Regions from separate parts of the Homo sapiens genome. Here region 2 is linked to region 1. The links are contacts of gene promoters, found by promoter capture Hi-C in human tissues and cell types (Jung and others, 2019). All regions are on one chromosome and are shown on one strand. Each heading gives the region's core, a stretch centred on a gene start or on the middle of the fragment in contact. The rest is flanking DNA. Distances are from core to core; before and after follow the strand shown.

Region 1 (7,938 bases), core at 5,439-7,938:
TTGTCCAGGCTGGAGCTCACTACTGCCTCCAACTTTCAGGCTCAAGTGATCTTCTTGCCTCAGCCTCCTGAGTAGCTGAGACTCCAGACATGCATCACCACACCCAGATAATTTTTAAACTTTTTGCAGAGATGGGATCTCACTATGTTGCCCAGGCTGGTCTTGTGCTATGGGGCTCAAGCAATCCTCCTGCCTCAGGCTCCCAAAGTGCTGGGATTATAGGTGTGTGCCTGGACTCTTCTCTTTTTCTTTTTCTTTCTTTCTCTCTCTCTCTCTCTCTTTTTTTTTTTTTTTTTTTTGAGACAGGGTCTCGCTCTGTCACCCAGGCTGGAATGCAGTGGTACAATCTCGGCTCACTGCAATCTCTGCCTCCCAGGCTCAAGTGATCCTCCCACCTCAGCTTCCTGAGTAGCTGGGACTACAGGCATGCACCACCACACCCAGCTAATTTTTTGTATTTTGGGTAGAGACGGGGTTTCGCCATGTTGCCCATATTGGTCTTGAACTCCTAAGCTCAGATGATCCACCTGCCTTGGCCTCCCAAAGTGATGGGATTACAGGCCTCCCAAAGTGATGAGCAACCACGACTGGCCCCATTTTCTTTTCTTTATAGCACCTTTCACTGTCTGAAATGATTTTATCTATTTATTTTCTTATTATCTGTCTTTCTCCACTAGAATGTCAGCTCCTTGAGAGCGGCAACTTTGTTTTGGTCATTGCTGTATCCCCAGTGCCTAGAAGAGTTCCTGGAACACAGCAGGCACTCAGTAAATGAACAAAGGCACTGATTAACCCCTGTGCTTGTTCACAGGCTGTCCGACATAGAAGAGACACCCAAATAGGCCTAGACAAGAATACACGACAGACCCTAGGGTCATCCACATACCCTGGGGACATCTAGAAGCTAGGGACCACCTGCTTCCGCGCCCGCGGTGCCTGGAGGGTGGAGATCCCGAGTTGGAGACCGAGCACTCCCAGGGAGGGAGGAAAGATGCTCTGGGGGGAGCCCCGCCCCTCCCTGTATCCCCAGCAGCCAATGGGAGCGCGGTCCTCCTGACGCCCCCTGGGACGTGTAGTCCGGGCAGGGGCGCCCTCGGGCGCCGCCGCGCGCCCCTAGACTCCACGTCCCGTCGTGCGCTGGGAGGCGCGGGGATTGGCTGAGCCCCGCCCCCGGCCCGCCCCGCTCCGCTCGCGCCGCAGCCCCAAGAATGAATGAAATCGTAGCGCGCTGGGCGGCAGAGCGGGCGGCGCAGGCCGGGCTGGGCCCGCGCGCGGCGGCAGCGGCGCCCCGGGCCGGAGGCGGCCCAGCCGAGCGGGCCATGGCCACCGCCATTCAGAACCCGCTCAAGTCGTGAGTGTCCCTGCCGTCCCCGCCCCCTGTCCAGACCCCCCCACCAGGAGCCCTTCCCCCGCCCGCCCTGGGGCTGAGGAGGGGGACGCAGCGCGCGGACCGTAGTTGAATGGGGGCCCCCAGCGCGAACCCTTGCCCCGGGGGTCCCCACCCCCTGTCGCCCCCTGGGGTTGGGGGCGGGAGCCCCTCCAGGGTCGCGGGGGCGCCTCTTCTTTGTCGCTGTCAGTGAAGGAATGCGGCGCGGGCTGGGGGTGGCGGAGGCCGTTTCCCCACCCAGAGTGGGGGTAGGGGTTTCCCTCTCCTCCATCTCTCCCTCAGGGTCTCCGGAGGTGCCGGGCCTGCCCCGGCCGGGGCTGAAAGCTCGAACACCTAAGTCCGGACCTCGGTCTCCAGGGTTTCCATCACCCGCTCTCCGCTCATCAAAGCGCCTTTCTCTCTTTCCCCTTCTTTCTCTGAGGACCCCGGCCCTCGCGGCCGCAGGGTGGGAGCTGAGACGTCGGGGGTCCCCAGTTCCATCCCCGCTGCCTCCCCTTTTTCCTCCCGGGATCCCGGGAACTGGAAGCCCCGAACCCGCCGTCAGTCTGGACCGCGGCATCCCTCCCTCTCCCCGCGCATACACATCAAACGGGAGCATCTCTGATCCCTTTGGGGACCGGCTGCCCAGGAGGGGGTGCCGGGAGCGCCCTCGGTCTCCGGGGATTCCCTCCCTTTCTCCCTGGCCGCGGTCCTCCGAGCGTTCGCCTCTTCCCGGGCCCGGTGGCTGGGAATCCGGAAGCCTGGGTCCGAGCCTGGCCCCTCCTGACCCTCTCCTCTCCTTGCCATCCCTCGCGCTCTCCACACCTCCCCTTCCCCCTCTCCATCTCGCTCTTGCTTCCTCTTCGGGATCCCGGACTCCACGTCCCAGCGCTCCCCACCCCCCGTTCCCAGGCGGTGACAGCGGGCTCCAAGTGACAGGCACTCGGCCGCTCCCGCCCTCCCTCCCCGCAGGCGAGCGAGGCGCTCCCCTCCCCCTCCTCCCGGGCCTGGTGGAGGAGGCGGAGGGCGAGCGCCCGCGGCGTCGCACAAAGGGGCCGGGGCGACCTCCCCCACCCTTCCCCCAACCCCGTGCGCTGGCTGCCTTGACCTTGAACATCGAGGGCTGGGGGCGGGGGTGGGGGGTGGGGGGAGAGAGGGAGAGAGGGAGCGCCCCCCTACCCCACCCACGAGAAGGGATGCGCCTGCTGGCTGGACCAGAGGCCGCCAGTTGCTTCTGGTTTCTGGCGGGAATGGGGGTGGGAGGTGGAGGGTGGGAGTTGGGAGAGGAAGGGGGGCAGGGACTTAGAGGCAAGCGCCTACACGTGTGGCTTCGCCGTGAGCAGGGTGCCGGGAGCGGGTGTGTGGGGCTCGGGTCCGTGTGAGGTGGTGTATGATGGTGACACCCCTCTGCTGCCCTCTCACCCTAAGTGGCACACACAGACAGCTGTCTCTCCTGTGAGGGGACATCCGCAAAATGGCTGGGAACGGGGCTCTTGTGCAGGTTGGTGGATCTACAGGCGATGGGGCCCCTCACCCTGACCCTGGCCCAGACCCCTGGGAGGAGGTGTGCTACAGCCGTGAGCAGGGGCCCAGCTACAGTAAGCCTGGACTGGGAGGGCCCTACCCCTCTGTGCCCTTCCCTTCCAAAAGGTCTCTGTGGGGGTGAAGGTGGGGACTCCCTGGCTCCTGAAAGAATGTGAGTCAAATCCCCTGGGGAGAAGGAGCTGCAGGGTGCCGCCCTCGGAAGTTCCGACTGCCTGAGTTCCAAAACCAGCTTGAGCCACGAATGTTCCCTGCCGTGAGCCTCAGTTTTGCCATCTGTGTATGGGGGCTTCTAACAGCCCTTACCACCCGATGGGACTGTCGTGGGGCTAAGGCCATCTTTGTAAAGCAGTTAGCACAGAGACTGACACTGACCAAATGTAGTGATTATTATTAGTAGTATCAATATTGATTTATGAAATTGATTTCTACTGTGGGCCAGCTCCCACACAGGGCATTGGGGGATGGGGCAGGAGGATTGTTTGGGCCAGGGAGAGGACTGGGAGTTCAAGTGTGTAGGAGAGTATGTGGGAGTGGTGTGTGCAGGTGGTTAGGGCAGAAGGAAAGAAAGGAGAGCCCGCTGCAAGTGTCAGCCTGCGTCTGTGGGTAGATATCCTGCTGGTGGGCCGGGCATGGTGGCTTATGCCTGTAATCTCAGCACTTTGGGAGGGCAGGGTGGGCAGATCACTTGAGCTTAGGAGTTTGAGACTAGCCTGGCCAACACAGGGACACCCTGTTTTTACAAAAATACAAAAATTAGCCGGGTGCGGTGGCACAGGCCTGTAGTCCCAGCTACTTGGGGGTTTGAGGTGGGAGGATCGCTTGAGCCTGGGAGGTGGAGGCTGCAGCGAGCTGTGTTCATGCCATGGCACTCCAGCCTGGGCCATCGAGTGAGACGCTGTCCAAAAAAAAAAAAGAGAAAAAGAGAAAGAGGAAAGAAAGAGAAGAAAAGAAAGAAAGAAAGAAAGGAAGGAAGGAAGGAAGGAAGGAAGGAAGGAAGGAAGGAAGAGAAATAAAAGAAGAAAAGAAAAGAAAGAAAAATAGAAATTCTGCTGGTAGAGGAGGACTGTTAGGAAGGTCTGCACTCAGTGTCTACACTCGGGCTTCTCTTAATCAAATCGACATGAGAGTTTGGGGTGGGGCAGGAGTGAGTCTGCGTGTCTGAGGCTAGCGGTGTGGGAATCAAGTGTAAGAGGGTGTGTTACGGGACCTGTGAGCTAATGGGAGGTGAGAGAGGAAGGTGGGGTCACAGCTCACCGTGGGTAAGGTGTGAGGTGGCCACTATAGGGCCCTGGAGGCCAGAGTGATCGTAGGGGTGTCAGTGCCCCTCACTTAATCCCCTTGTCACCACTCCAGGCCATATGTGAATCAGAGACCTACCTCCTGTTCCAGGAGAGGGGCCGGCCAAGACCTTACCTGGCTTAGATGGGCGAGTTTGTGGAAAGGGTCTAAGACTAGAGGAGTGTGTGTGTGTGTGTGTGTGTGTGTGTGTGTGTGTAGAAGTGACCGTGAGTGTAGGAGGCCTTGACTGGATCTCTCTCTTGGGGGGATTTCAAGTGACAAAAATGGTGAAGGCTAGCGGGCCACTTCTGTCGGCTGGGGCGCCCCCTGGTGGATGAGGGCGTTTGTGGGCGTGTTAATTACAGCAGCCGCCCAAATTTGAATGCTGGCTCTACAGGGGTCCGGGTGGAAGAGGGGAAGGGGAAAGGGGGAGAAGGGGTGGGAAGGGGAAAGGGGGAGGAGGGGTGAGACGGGAGGGGGGACGGGGTGGTGGTGTTGCAGAGAGACTGGGTCAGTTTGTGACTCAGTGGGTCTGCTCACTCCCTGGGGATCTCTTCGGGTGGAGTCAGTGTGGGTGACAGTGGGAGAGAGAAGGAGGTCAGGACTACTTGGGGAGGGCCGTCAGGGGTGCCTGCCTCCTTCCTTCAGTCTTACCTTCAAAGAGCCGCCAGGGCATGCGGGCATGTGAGGTTACCTTCCTGTGCCTCAGATTCCTCACCTGGAAAATGCAGATAATAAAAGCATCCCGGGGTGAACTGTGCCCAGCACATGATGGGTGCATTTACTCATTCAACAAATATCTACTGAGCATCTATTTTTTTTTTTTTTTTTGGAGACAGGGTCTTGCTCAGTTGTCCAGGCTGGAGTGTAGTGGTGTGATCATAGCTCACTGCAGCTTCGATCTCCTGGGTTCAACCAATCCTCCTGACTCAGCCTCCTGAGTAGCTGGGACCATAGGCATGTGCCACCATGCCCAGCTATTTATTTTTTTTTTAGTAGAGACCAGGTCTCGCTATGTTGCCCAGGCTGTTCTCCTGAGCTCAAGCGGTCCTCTCATCTCAGCCTCCCAGATTGCTGGGATTACAGGCATGAGTCACGGCGCCCTGCTTACTTAGTTTTTTGTTTGTTTGTTTGTTTGTTTGTTTGCTTTTAGAGACAGAGTCTCGCTCTGCCACCCAGGCTGGAGTGCAGTGGTGAGACCACAGCTCACTGCAGCCTCAGCCTCCCAGGTTCAAGCTATCCTCCCACTTTAGCCTTGCAAGTAGCTGGGACTACACTGCTGCGCCATCATGCCCAGCTAATTTTAATTTTTTTTTGTAGACACAGGGGTCTGGATATGTTGCCCAGGTTGGTCTCAAACTCCTGGGCTCAAGCAGTGCTCTCATCTAGGCCTCCCGAAGTACTGGGATTGCAGACTGGAGCCATCGCACCTGGCCGCATTATTCTTTCTTTCTTATTATTTATTTATTTATTTTTGAGAGGGAGTCTCACTCTTGTTGCCCAGGCTGGAGTGCAATGGCACGATCTCAGCTCACTGCAACCTCCACCTCCTGAGTTCAAGTGATTCTCCTGCCTCAGCCTCCTGAGTGGGGGAGTATAAGCATGCGCCACCATGCCCGGCTAATTTTGTATTTTTAGTAGAGACTACTACCATGTTGGCCAGGCTGGTCTCGAACTCCCATCCTCAGGTGATCCACCTGCCTGGGCCTCCCAAAGTGCCGGGATTACAGGTGTGAGCCACTGCGCCTGGCCTGCCAGTCACCTCTTAAAATGCTTTACCTATATTTACTCATTTAATCCTCACAACACTCCAGTGAGGCATCATCCTCTTTTTACAGATGAGGAAACTGAGGCCCAGAAAGGTTAAGTCATTTGCCAAGGTCACATGGCCACCAAGTGGCAGAGCTAGGATTTGAACCCTGGAGGTGTGACTACTGTTTCTAACCTGCACTGCTGCTGTCAGGCCTGCAGAAGGCGTTGAGCAGGGCGGGGTGACCGTGAGCGTGGCTGCTGGGAGAGACAGCCCCGGGTGGGGTCTCTGGAGCCAGGAGGGACTTGGGTGGGGGGCGGTGAGGGGGTGTCTGCTGGAAGCATGTTGGTGAGAAGTCTGTGTGGGCACCTGGGAGGTGTCTCTGCGTCTCTTAGTATTGCAGTGTGTGTGCGTGTGGCTGTGTGAGTCCGTGCGAAGGTGTGTGAGTAGGAGTGTGTGGGAGGCTGTGAGTATCCGCGTGAATGTGTGTGTAAACTGCCATGCGTGGGCGTGTGCGAGTCCAGGTGTGCATGTGGTTGTGTGCACGCGAGAGCAGGATATGTGGACGAGTGAGGGCGGGTGAGTGACGGTGCGTGCCCCGGGCCCCTCCTCCGCGCCGTCCCGTCCCCGCGGGGTCCCGGGGGCCCCCTGGCCTGGGACTACCACTCCCAGCATGGCCCGGGCGGGCCCGCCCCGTCGCCGCGATTGGCCGTGGCCCTCGTGCTCCCGCCCCCCGGGAATGAATGGATGGGCGGCCTCAGCGCCCGCCCGACCGCTGGGAGGACCGACCCGGCGGGGACCTGCTGGGGGCAGGACCCGGGGAGCAAGATGGCCACTGTCATCCCTGGCCCCCTGAGGTGGTGCGGGCCGGCGGGAGGCGGAGAGGAAGCGCGGGCGGGTCTACGCGGGCCTGTGTGTGTGTGGCGACCGGGGGTGGGGCCGAAGGGGTGTCTGGGGGGCTGTCACCGAGTGCGGGGCTGCGCGGGGGTGCGAGAGTGTGTGACTGTGGGTCTCTGACAAGAATGGTGTCGGATGCACCGCTCCCTGGCGGGGTGGAGGGCGTGGGGGGCCTCCAGATTCTTTTTGGGGAAGGGAGACATCATCCCTTCCCTGCAACCCTCGGGTCTGGGAGAGACTGAAATGACCCGGGGGTGCGGGGGCCTTGGCAACTGGAGTGAAGTCCACACTACCTTTGTCTTGGGATGTGGAGTGTGTGTGTGTATCACTTATTTGTGTTCTGGTTTTTTTAAGAATTTTTGGGGGATAGGTGTGTGGACATGTGTCTGTTTCCTTTTATTCTGCACTAGATATCTTTGGATATTTGGGTCTCCCAGTGTGTGTCCGTGTCCTTTGGAACTATATGTCATTTGTCTTGTGTTCTGTGTTTTTGGGTATGTAGGGCTGCGTGTATTTGTGTGTAAATTTTTGTGTGACTATGGGTGGATTTGGCTGTTTCTGTGTTTTATATGTGTGTGTGTCTGTGTGGATGTGTGATATTTTAGATACTGGTTGCGCATCGTGCATCTTTGTAAATGTGTGTGTGTACCTGTGTGAATCTGTGTGATTTCTTTGTGTTGTGTGTCTGGATATTGTGTGTGTGGTTTGTGTTGTGTCTTTGGATACATGGGTAAGTGCCTAGGGGCGCAAGTGGTTTCTGTAGTTCCTGTCTTTTGACATGCTTGTGTCTTTGGATGCATGAGGGGGTGTATGTGTGTGTGGTGTGATGTTTCCATGTTGTGTGTCTTTGTGTGGGTGATGTGTTTCTGGTGTGTGTCTGTGGATATGTGATGTGTCTTTGTGCATGGTTATTTGTGTGATTTGTCTCCACACTATGGAACTTGGGATATTTGTCTTTTTCAGTAGATATTTATGTGTGCACGTGTGTGAGGTTTGTCTGTTTCTCCTTTGTGAGTATTGGGATTTGTCTCTCTTTGTGTGTGAATCCCGTGTGACTGTGTGTGATTTGTGTTGTGTGTCTGCATGTGTTCAGGTAGGGATA
Region 2 (7,938 bases), core at 4,078-6,577, 710 kb before region 1:
TCATTATTAATTGGTCACCTATGGGGATGTTTAGCTTGAACTGCACCTCTCAGTCTGCATGCCATGGCCACACTGTGATCAGCTCATCTGAACAAAATGGTCAGATGATAGAAATGGTAAGAAATACAGCAAGAGTTCCTATTATCTGGAACCATGGCAGTATAGTGGCACCTCAGCCTCAAATGATATGGCCTGCTCTAGGAGCTAAACATAAGCATTTGTGGAAACTGTTAATAGCTCTTAATAAAATCAAAATTTGGGAAAGAATAAAAAAGCATCTAGAAGGCCACTCTACAAACTTGTATTTGGATATTGCAAAATTGAAAGAACAAATATTTAAAGTATCCCAGGCACACGTGAACTTAATGCCAGGAACTGGAGTGCTTGAAGGAGCTGCAGACAGATTAGCAGCTAGTAACCCATTCAAATGGATAAAAACACTTGGAGGCTCTGTGATTTCAATGATGATTGTGCTTTTACTCTGTGTTGTTTGTCTTTGTATAGTGTGCAGATGCGGATCCTGACTCCTGTGAGAAGTAGCTCACCGTGACAAAGCTGCCTTTGCTTTTATCACTTTGCAAAACAAAAAAGGGGACATGTTGGGAACAGGCCCCTGAATCTGGCCATAAACTGGCCCCAAAACTGGCCATAAACAAAATCTCTGCAGCACTGTGACATGTTCATGATGGCCATGACCCCCACCCTGAAGGTCGTGGGTTTACTGGAATGAGGGCAAGGAACACCTGGCTCACCCAGGATGGAAAACGGCTTAAAGGGGTTCCTGTACCACAAACAATAGCATGAGCGATCTGTGCCTTAAGGACATGTTCCTGCTGCAGATAACTAGCCAGAGCCCATCCGTTTATTTTGGCACATCCCTTTATTTCCCATAAGAAATGCTTTTAGTTAATCTATAATCTATAGAAATAATGCTTATCACTGGCTTGCTGTCAATAAATATGTGTGTAAATCTCTGTTCGAGGCTCTCAGCTCTGAAGGCTGTGAGACCCCTGATTTCCCACTCCACACCCTGTATTTCTGGGTGTGTGTCTTTAATTCCTCTAGCGCCACTGGGTTAGGGTCTCCACGACCCAGCTGGTCTCGGCACTCTGGGATCCTGCCACGGGGCTGTGTAACCAGCCATCTCTGTGCAACATGCCCAGCACTGCCTGTCAGCATCTCCTGTTCAGGTCAGGCTAGCACCTCTCTCATCAGAATTCCAGAATTCCATCAGAGGCCAAGTCCCCCACCCCCACCTCCTGCCCTTGCTTTGGGGGCAACTTCCTGCAAGGTAACACTTCCTTTTCTCCACACTCCTGTATACAGACTCCTGGAGCAGAGTGTGCCATGAGGAAAAGCTCTCCCATCCCCCCATCTCCCTCCACTTCTCTATTTCTCAGCTAGGCATGGCCAACAAACTAGCTCAATAAAACTGGTGCCAAATATGAGGGGATGGGCAATTTTTATCTGTAATCAGTGCACTTATCTGCCACCAGCTCTGATCCTAAAAGACCTTGTGGCCTCATGTTTACAATCAGGAGACCCTCAGGAGGCTGTGTGTTGAGCGTCAAGAGGAACTCGGAGACAGCTATGATGCTCCAAACAGCTCTCAAGCATGCACCCTTATCAGCGCCATTTGGTCCAGGCTCAGAGTGTAAACAACCTGCCCAAGGTCACCCAGCCAGTAAGTAGGGGAGGCAGGGCTTGGAGCAGTGCTGGGCTCCAGAGCCCAATGATATAAACACAGTTCCAACATTGTTTTTTCTTTTTTCTTTTTTTGAGACAGAGTCTCACTCTGTCACCCAGGCTGCAGTGCAGTGGTGCTGATCTCAGCTCACTGCAACCTCCACCTCCCAGGTTCAAGCAAGTCTCCTGCCTCAGCCTCCTGAGTAGCTGAGATTATAGGCACATGCCACCATGCCCGGGTAATTTTTGTATTTTTAGTAGAGACAGGGTTTCACCATGTTGGCCAGGCTGGTCTCAAACTCCTGACCTCAAGTGGTCGGCCCACCTCGGCCTCCCAAAGTGTTGAGATTACAGGCATGAGCCACTGCACCTGGCCCCACTTCTTAAATCTTACATGGCCAAAAACATGATCAGGTGCAGTCAGCATTATCATCAGTGCCATTTTCCAAGGGAGGAAACCGAGGCCCATAGGGGGAACCAACATAGCCAGGTCTCATAGCAATTATGACGGGGAGCAGAATTTGAGCTCAGGTGAACCCAGTAATAATTTTATATTATTATATAATATAATAGTGGCTCACACCTATAATCCAGCATTTTAGGAGGCCAAGGTGGAAGGATCTCTTGAGGCCAAGAGTTCGAGACCAGCCTGGACAACAAAGCCAGATTCCCACTCTAAAAAAATGGAAAAGTTAGCCAGGTGTGGTGGCACACACCTGTGGTCCTGACTACTCAGGAGGCTGAGGCGGGAGGATCTATTGAGCTCAGGAGGTCAAGGCTGAAGTAAGCTTTGATCATAGAACCGCACTCCAGCCTGGACAACACAGTGAGACTCTGTCTCTCTCTCTACACAAACACACACAAACACACACACACACACACACACACACACACACGTATAAAATAAAAGAACAGCTCCCGGGTGTGGAGCAGCACACCCCATTGAATCCTTTCCACACCCCTTCCACATCAACATTACAATTACTGCCATTTTCCAGCTGTCCATGCTTGAGGGCAGAGTTTATGTGCCCAGAACCCATGGCCTGCAGGAAGAAGACCTGGGCCTCTGTGCCACCTACCTGACTCCTAAGCTTAAAATACAGTAGCCCTCTGCCAGGCGTGGTGGCTCACGCCTGTAATCCCAGCACTTTGGGAGGCCAAGGTGGGCAGATCACCCGAGCTCAGGAGTTTGAGACCAGCCTGGCCAACATGGTGAAACGCTGTCTCTACTAAAAATACAAAAATTAGCCAGGCCTGGTGGTGTGTGCCTACAATCCCAGCTACTCGGGAGGCTGAGGCAGGAGAATCATATGAACCCGGGGGGCAGAGGTTGCAGTGAGCTGAGATCAGGCCACTGCACTCCAGCCTGGGCAACAGAGTGAGACTTTGTCTAAAAAAAAAAAAAAGAGCCCTCCGTGCGTGTTATGCACATAGAGCATCGAATTTAATCTTCACCAAACCAAACAAAGGAGATACCACCAATGGAGCTATTTTCTGGAGGAAACTGAAGCTCAGAGATGTCCACTGCCACAGCCACACAGAGGGCAAATACTCCACAAGGGGATTTACATCACAAGCGCCAGGGTCTGTTTATTAAAACCCCTTCCCAGCAGAGGGCAGTACAGTGTCTTGTCCCAGCAGAAAAGGTCCTTCAGGCCACCCCTCTAAACACAGGAGCCAAGGGTGTTGACAGAGGGGCACCCTTTGCACCCCCAGGACTCCTATGGCTTAATAGTGGTCCTGATGGAAGAGGCGGAGCCAGGACTTGAATCCATGAGTGGCTGCCTCTAGAGGCGCAAAGGCCAGCATCGGAGGACCCTGTGGCAGCCAGGAGCGGAAGGTTCATGTTCTGCAGGGGCGCCCAGCCCACTGTGCCCCCAGCCGTCACTTCTTCTGCACGTGGCCACAGTCGTACTTGCCACGCACAACGGTGAGCTTGACGCCTGGCAGGTCCTGGGTGCGGCCGCCCTCCACAAGGACAATCTGGTGCTCCTGCAGGGTGTGGCCCTCCCCAGGGATGAAGCAGACGGCCTCGCGGCCAGTGCTGAGCCGCACTCGACAGCACTTGCGATTGGCTGAGTTGGGCTTCTTCGGCTTGCGGGTAAACGTGCACAGGACCACACCCTTCAGCTGCGGCCGGCCTTCCGTGGGGCCCAGCTTCCGAGGCGGCCGCTTGGGGGGCCCCAGGCGGTGCATCTGGTTCAGGGTAGCCATGGAGCAGGTAGCCCAGAGCCGGGGAACCAGAGCTGGGCCTGGAGAGGGCCGAAAGGGGTTATTATCCCAGAGAACAGATCTTAGAGTAGTAGCAACTCAATTTTGGTGTTTTAGGCATTGTTTAAAGCACTTTACAAAGATGCATTTGTTCACATCTAATGTTATCTACAGACAAAAGTAACTCTTTATTCTTCAAGGAAGCATTACCTTTTTTTTTTTTTTCTTTTTTTTTTTTGAGACAAAGTCTCACTCTGTCGCCCAGGCTGGAGTGCAGTACCTCAATCTTGGCCCACTGCAACCTCTGCCTCCTGGGTTCAAGCAATTCTCCTGTCTCAGCCTCCTGAGCAGCTGGGACTACAGGCACCCACCACCACGCTCGGCTAATCTTCGTATTTTTAAGTAGAGACGGGGTTTCACCATGTTGGTCAGGCTGGTCTCGAACTCCTGACCTCGGCCTCTCAAAGTGCTGGGATTACAGGCGTGAGCCACCACGGCTGGCCAGGAAGCATTATTTTTAATGCTGTTTAAAATAATAGTAGGCTCAGTGGCTCATGCATGTAATCCTAGCACTTTTGGAGGCTGTGGAGGGTCACTTGAGCTCAGGAGTTAAGGCCAGACTGGGCGACACAGGGAGACCTCCCTCTCTACAAAGAATCAAAAAGTTAGCTGGTTGTGGTTCTGCAGGCCTGTGGTCCCAGCTACTTGGGAGGCTGAGGCGGGAGGATCACTTGAGCCCAGGAGGTCGAGACTGCAGTGAGCTGTGATCACACCGCTGCACTTCAGCCTGGGCGACAGAGGGAGATCTTAAATAAATAAATAATAAAACTGACCCAAACGCCGCTTGACACGCAGTAGCCCTCCATGCAGCTGCTTCCCACCTCTTGCTCTAGCAGCCCTAGCTCTGCCAAAACCCCACCGTGTTTTTCCACCCCCGTTTCCCTCGGGGCTCCGACGGAGGCACACAAGTCCAAGAGCGAATAACCCTCCCCCTCTAGCCTCGTCCCTGAAGCCCAAGTCCCCCACTTACCACAAGTTAGGGACGTGTTGAGGCCATGGAGAAGGCCAGACCAGGACATCCTGCCACCTGGGCCGTCCCTGTGGTAGGGGATAAGAGACTCAGAAAGGAGGAAAAAGTGACCGATCCGCAAATGCTCCCCGATCCGCTCTCAGGACTTTCTGGCTTAAATCAAAGGAAATACCTCTATAGGTCTAACCACAGGCCCTCATGCTGCTAACAGAAAGTCCCTCCGTAAATTTAGCCTCGCTCTGAGTGGGTTCCCGAGGGCCCAACCACTCTCGCCCGCACGCAGGAAGAACTGGGAAACTGGGGAGATGGCCTGGTAGATTTGGAGGACCCCAGGATTCCACCGACCTCACAGGACCTAAAGGTGAGGTCGCGGACACGCTGAATCCAGCTTCTAGCCTCTTCCGGGCGCTATCCGTGCAGGGATTGGCTGGTTCTGCCTCGCGTCACTGAAGAGGCGGGACACAGACGACGATTGGGCGACGAAGGACTCTATCGCGGTCAACTTTCCTCAGGATCTGATTGGCTCGTCACGGTCAGGTTCGCTGCCTTGCAATTGGTCTAAACGCGGAGTGGGCGGGACGAAGTGCCGCCTTGTTCCCGGTCCAAGATGGCTGCGTCCATGGCGCGGCGCTTGTGGCCTTTGCTGACTCGTCGGGGGTTCCGGCCCCGGGGAGGCTGCATCTCCAACGATAGTCCAAGGAGAAGTTTCACTACAGAGAAACGAAACCGGAACCTCCTGTACGAGTATGCGCGCGAGGGCTACAGCGCACTCCCTCAGCTGGACATAGAGCGGTTCTGCGCATGCCCAGAAGAGGCCGCACACGCCCTGGAGCTCCGCAAGGGGGAGCTGCGCTCGGCGGACCTGCCCGCGATCGTGAGTGCGCCTGCGCCGGCCGGGGGGCGCAGACGTTTGCTTTACGGAAGAATTGGGTTTGCAAGATGCCCTCCGGCAGGGGGCGAACCTGTAGTAGGAATTTTAGTTATTTCCCAAGTTAGCCAACGTCTTGTGCATGGCACCCACTTATGTGCCAGTTGTCCAGTGAGTGCTGAGGCCCTACTATGTGCCAAGAATGCCTACTGTGTCCTGGACACCCATTATGCGCTTGTTTCATACTGCTCGCTGGGTACCTCCTGTCCTTTAGGAACTTGCTATGTGACATTGCCCTCCGTGCTGCAACCTCATGCCAGCCTTTCCCTAAGACCACAAAGGAAAATGGGGAGCCAAGTGTGAATCGGACGGGGTCAGGGCTGGGGTGTGGTGGAGCTCTTGCGTTTAGAGAGAGAGGTAGGGAGAGTTGTGCACCTCCGCCACACATAGCAGGCAGTTAAATAGAGTTAATGAATGAATGAATGAATCCATTAATGAATGGTTCTATTAAACTGATACTTAAGGTGCAACTGCTATATTCCGGTGTTCTAGATGTTGCAAATATGCGGTGAATAATAATAAAATTGCTAGCACTTATAAAAGGGAATTAGGACCGGGTTCACAATATCTCTGTGTTGAGGTGCTAACGATAGTGGGGTCCCCACGTCTTCCCATTCCTCTCTTGGACTCCCCTCCCAGCCTGTTTGAAGTGCTTTATTCACTTTAACCTCGTTTAATTTTCACAGCAACTCTATGAAGTAGGTGCCATTATTTCTCCCATTTTATCAGAGGGGAAACTAAGGCTTCGAGAAGCTAATTCACTTGCGCTAGGTCATGCAACTGGGAAGTGGCAGAGTGGGAATTTTAACCTGTGCTTTCTGGCCTAGAATCCACTTTTTTTTTTTTTTTTTTTGAGATAGGGTGTTGTTCTGTCGCCCAGGATGGCAGGATGGAGTACAGTGGTACAATTATAGCTCACTGGAACCTTGAATTCCTGAGCTCAAATAATCCTCCCACTCAGCCTCCCGTGTAGCTGGGACTACAGGCAGACACCACCACGCCCGGCTAAACTTTTGTATTTTTTGTTGAGACAGGGACATACTATGTTGCCCAGGCTGGTCTTGAACTCCTGCGCCCAAGTGATCCTCCCACCCTGGCCTCCCAAAATGCTGAGATTACAGGCATGAGCCACCACACCCAGACTCCACAATCTTAAGTACCCTGCTGTGCCCTCTCATGATCTGAGTTCACAGTCTAGTAAAAGACATTTTTTTTTTGAGATGGAGTTTTGCTCTTGTCTCCCAGGCTGGAGTGCGCTGCGACTTCTGCCTCCCAGGTTGAAGTGATTCTCCCACCTCAGCCTCCCGAGTAGCTGGGATTACAGGCACATGCCACCACATCTGCATAATTTTTGTATTTTTAGTAGAGACGGGGTTTCACCATGTTGGCCAGGCTGGTCTCGAACTCTTGACCTCAAGTGATCCACCCACCTTGGCCTCCCAAAGTGCTAGGAGTACAGATGTGAGCCACCATGCCCCACTAAAAGACATTTAACATATACAACTATACATATATACTAATTACAATTTCTGGTAAATTTGACTACCTAGAGTAATCAAATTCATAGAGACAGATATACTCATTATAATCTGTGGTAAATGCTGTGAAGGCAAAGTGGAGGACAGCCTGGGAGGACTTCTCAGAGGAGGTGGCATTAAACAAAGATCTGTGGATTGAGAAATCACCAGGGAAGAGGGAAGAAGAGTATCCCAAGTAGGGGACCAGAATATACAAAAGCCTGGAGGTAGGATGGAAAATTCCATTTGATGGCCATGTAGATAATTTAGAGCGTCACATCCTTTAGCAGGCTTTTTCAAACTTTGTGGCCAAGAGTAAGAAATACATTTCACATCCTGACCCAGTACACACACCCAAAATTGAAACCGGTTTCATTAACAATTATTGCTCTTACCACGTGTGATGCATTCTTGTTCTTTAATTATATTCTCTTTCATTTGTAAAGTGCTAGTTGTTGTTTTTTTTTTTTGCGGGGGGGGGGGCCAGGGGTGTGTTTTTGTTGTTTGTTCGTTTGTTTTTTAAGACTGAGTCTTCCTCTGTCGCCCAGGCCTGAGTGCAGTCGCAC

Evidence for each region. Contacts are between HindIII fragments. The study calls those that stand out against the background at their distance.
Region 2: a contact is called between the fragment with the promoter of MRPS12 here and the fragment with the promoter of DPF1 in region 1, in 1 of the 25 tissues and cell types used here (spleen).

The regions. Positions count from the first base shown.
Region 1 is chr19:38,222,972-38,230,909 of GRCh38, reverse strand. DPF1 (double PHD fingers 1) reads left to right here and starts at 6,688. Exons shown (of 12, transcript NM_001135155.3): 1 at 6,688-6,796. The coding sequence starts at 6,768. RefSeq lists silencers at 931-1,310, 6,354-6,923 and an enhancer at 2,661-3,431. The HindIII fragment of the contact is 15,736 bases long and covers 1-7,938 here.
Region 2 is chr19:38,928,333-38,936,270 of GRCh38, reverse strand. It overlaps MRPS12 (mitochondrial ribosomal protein S12), which reads right to left and starts at 5,327. Exons shown (of 3, transcript NM_033362.4): 1 at 5,273-5,327; 2 at 4,928-4,995; 3 at 3,103-3,938. The coding sequence starts at 4,976. The coding sequence ends at 3,571. SARS2 (seryl-tRNA synthetase 2, mitochondrial) reads left to right here and starts at 5,508. Exons shown (of 16, transcript NM_017827.4): 1 at 5,508-5,801. The coding sequence starts at 5,535. LOC124904713 (a long non-coding RNA gene) reads left to right here. Exons shown (of 2, transcript XR_007067253.1): 2 at 1-1,448. RefSeq lists an enhancer at 5,424-5,883. The HindIII fragment of the contact is 13,053 bases long and covers 1,157-7,938 here.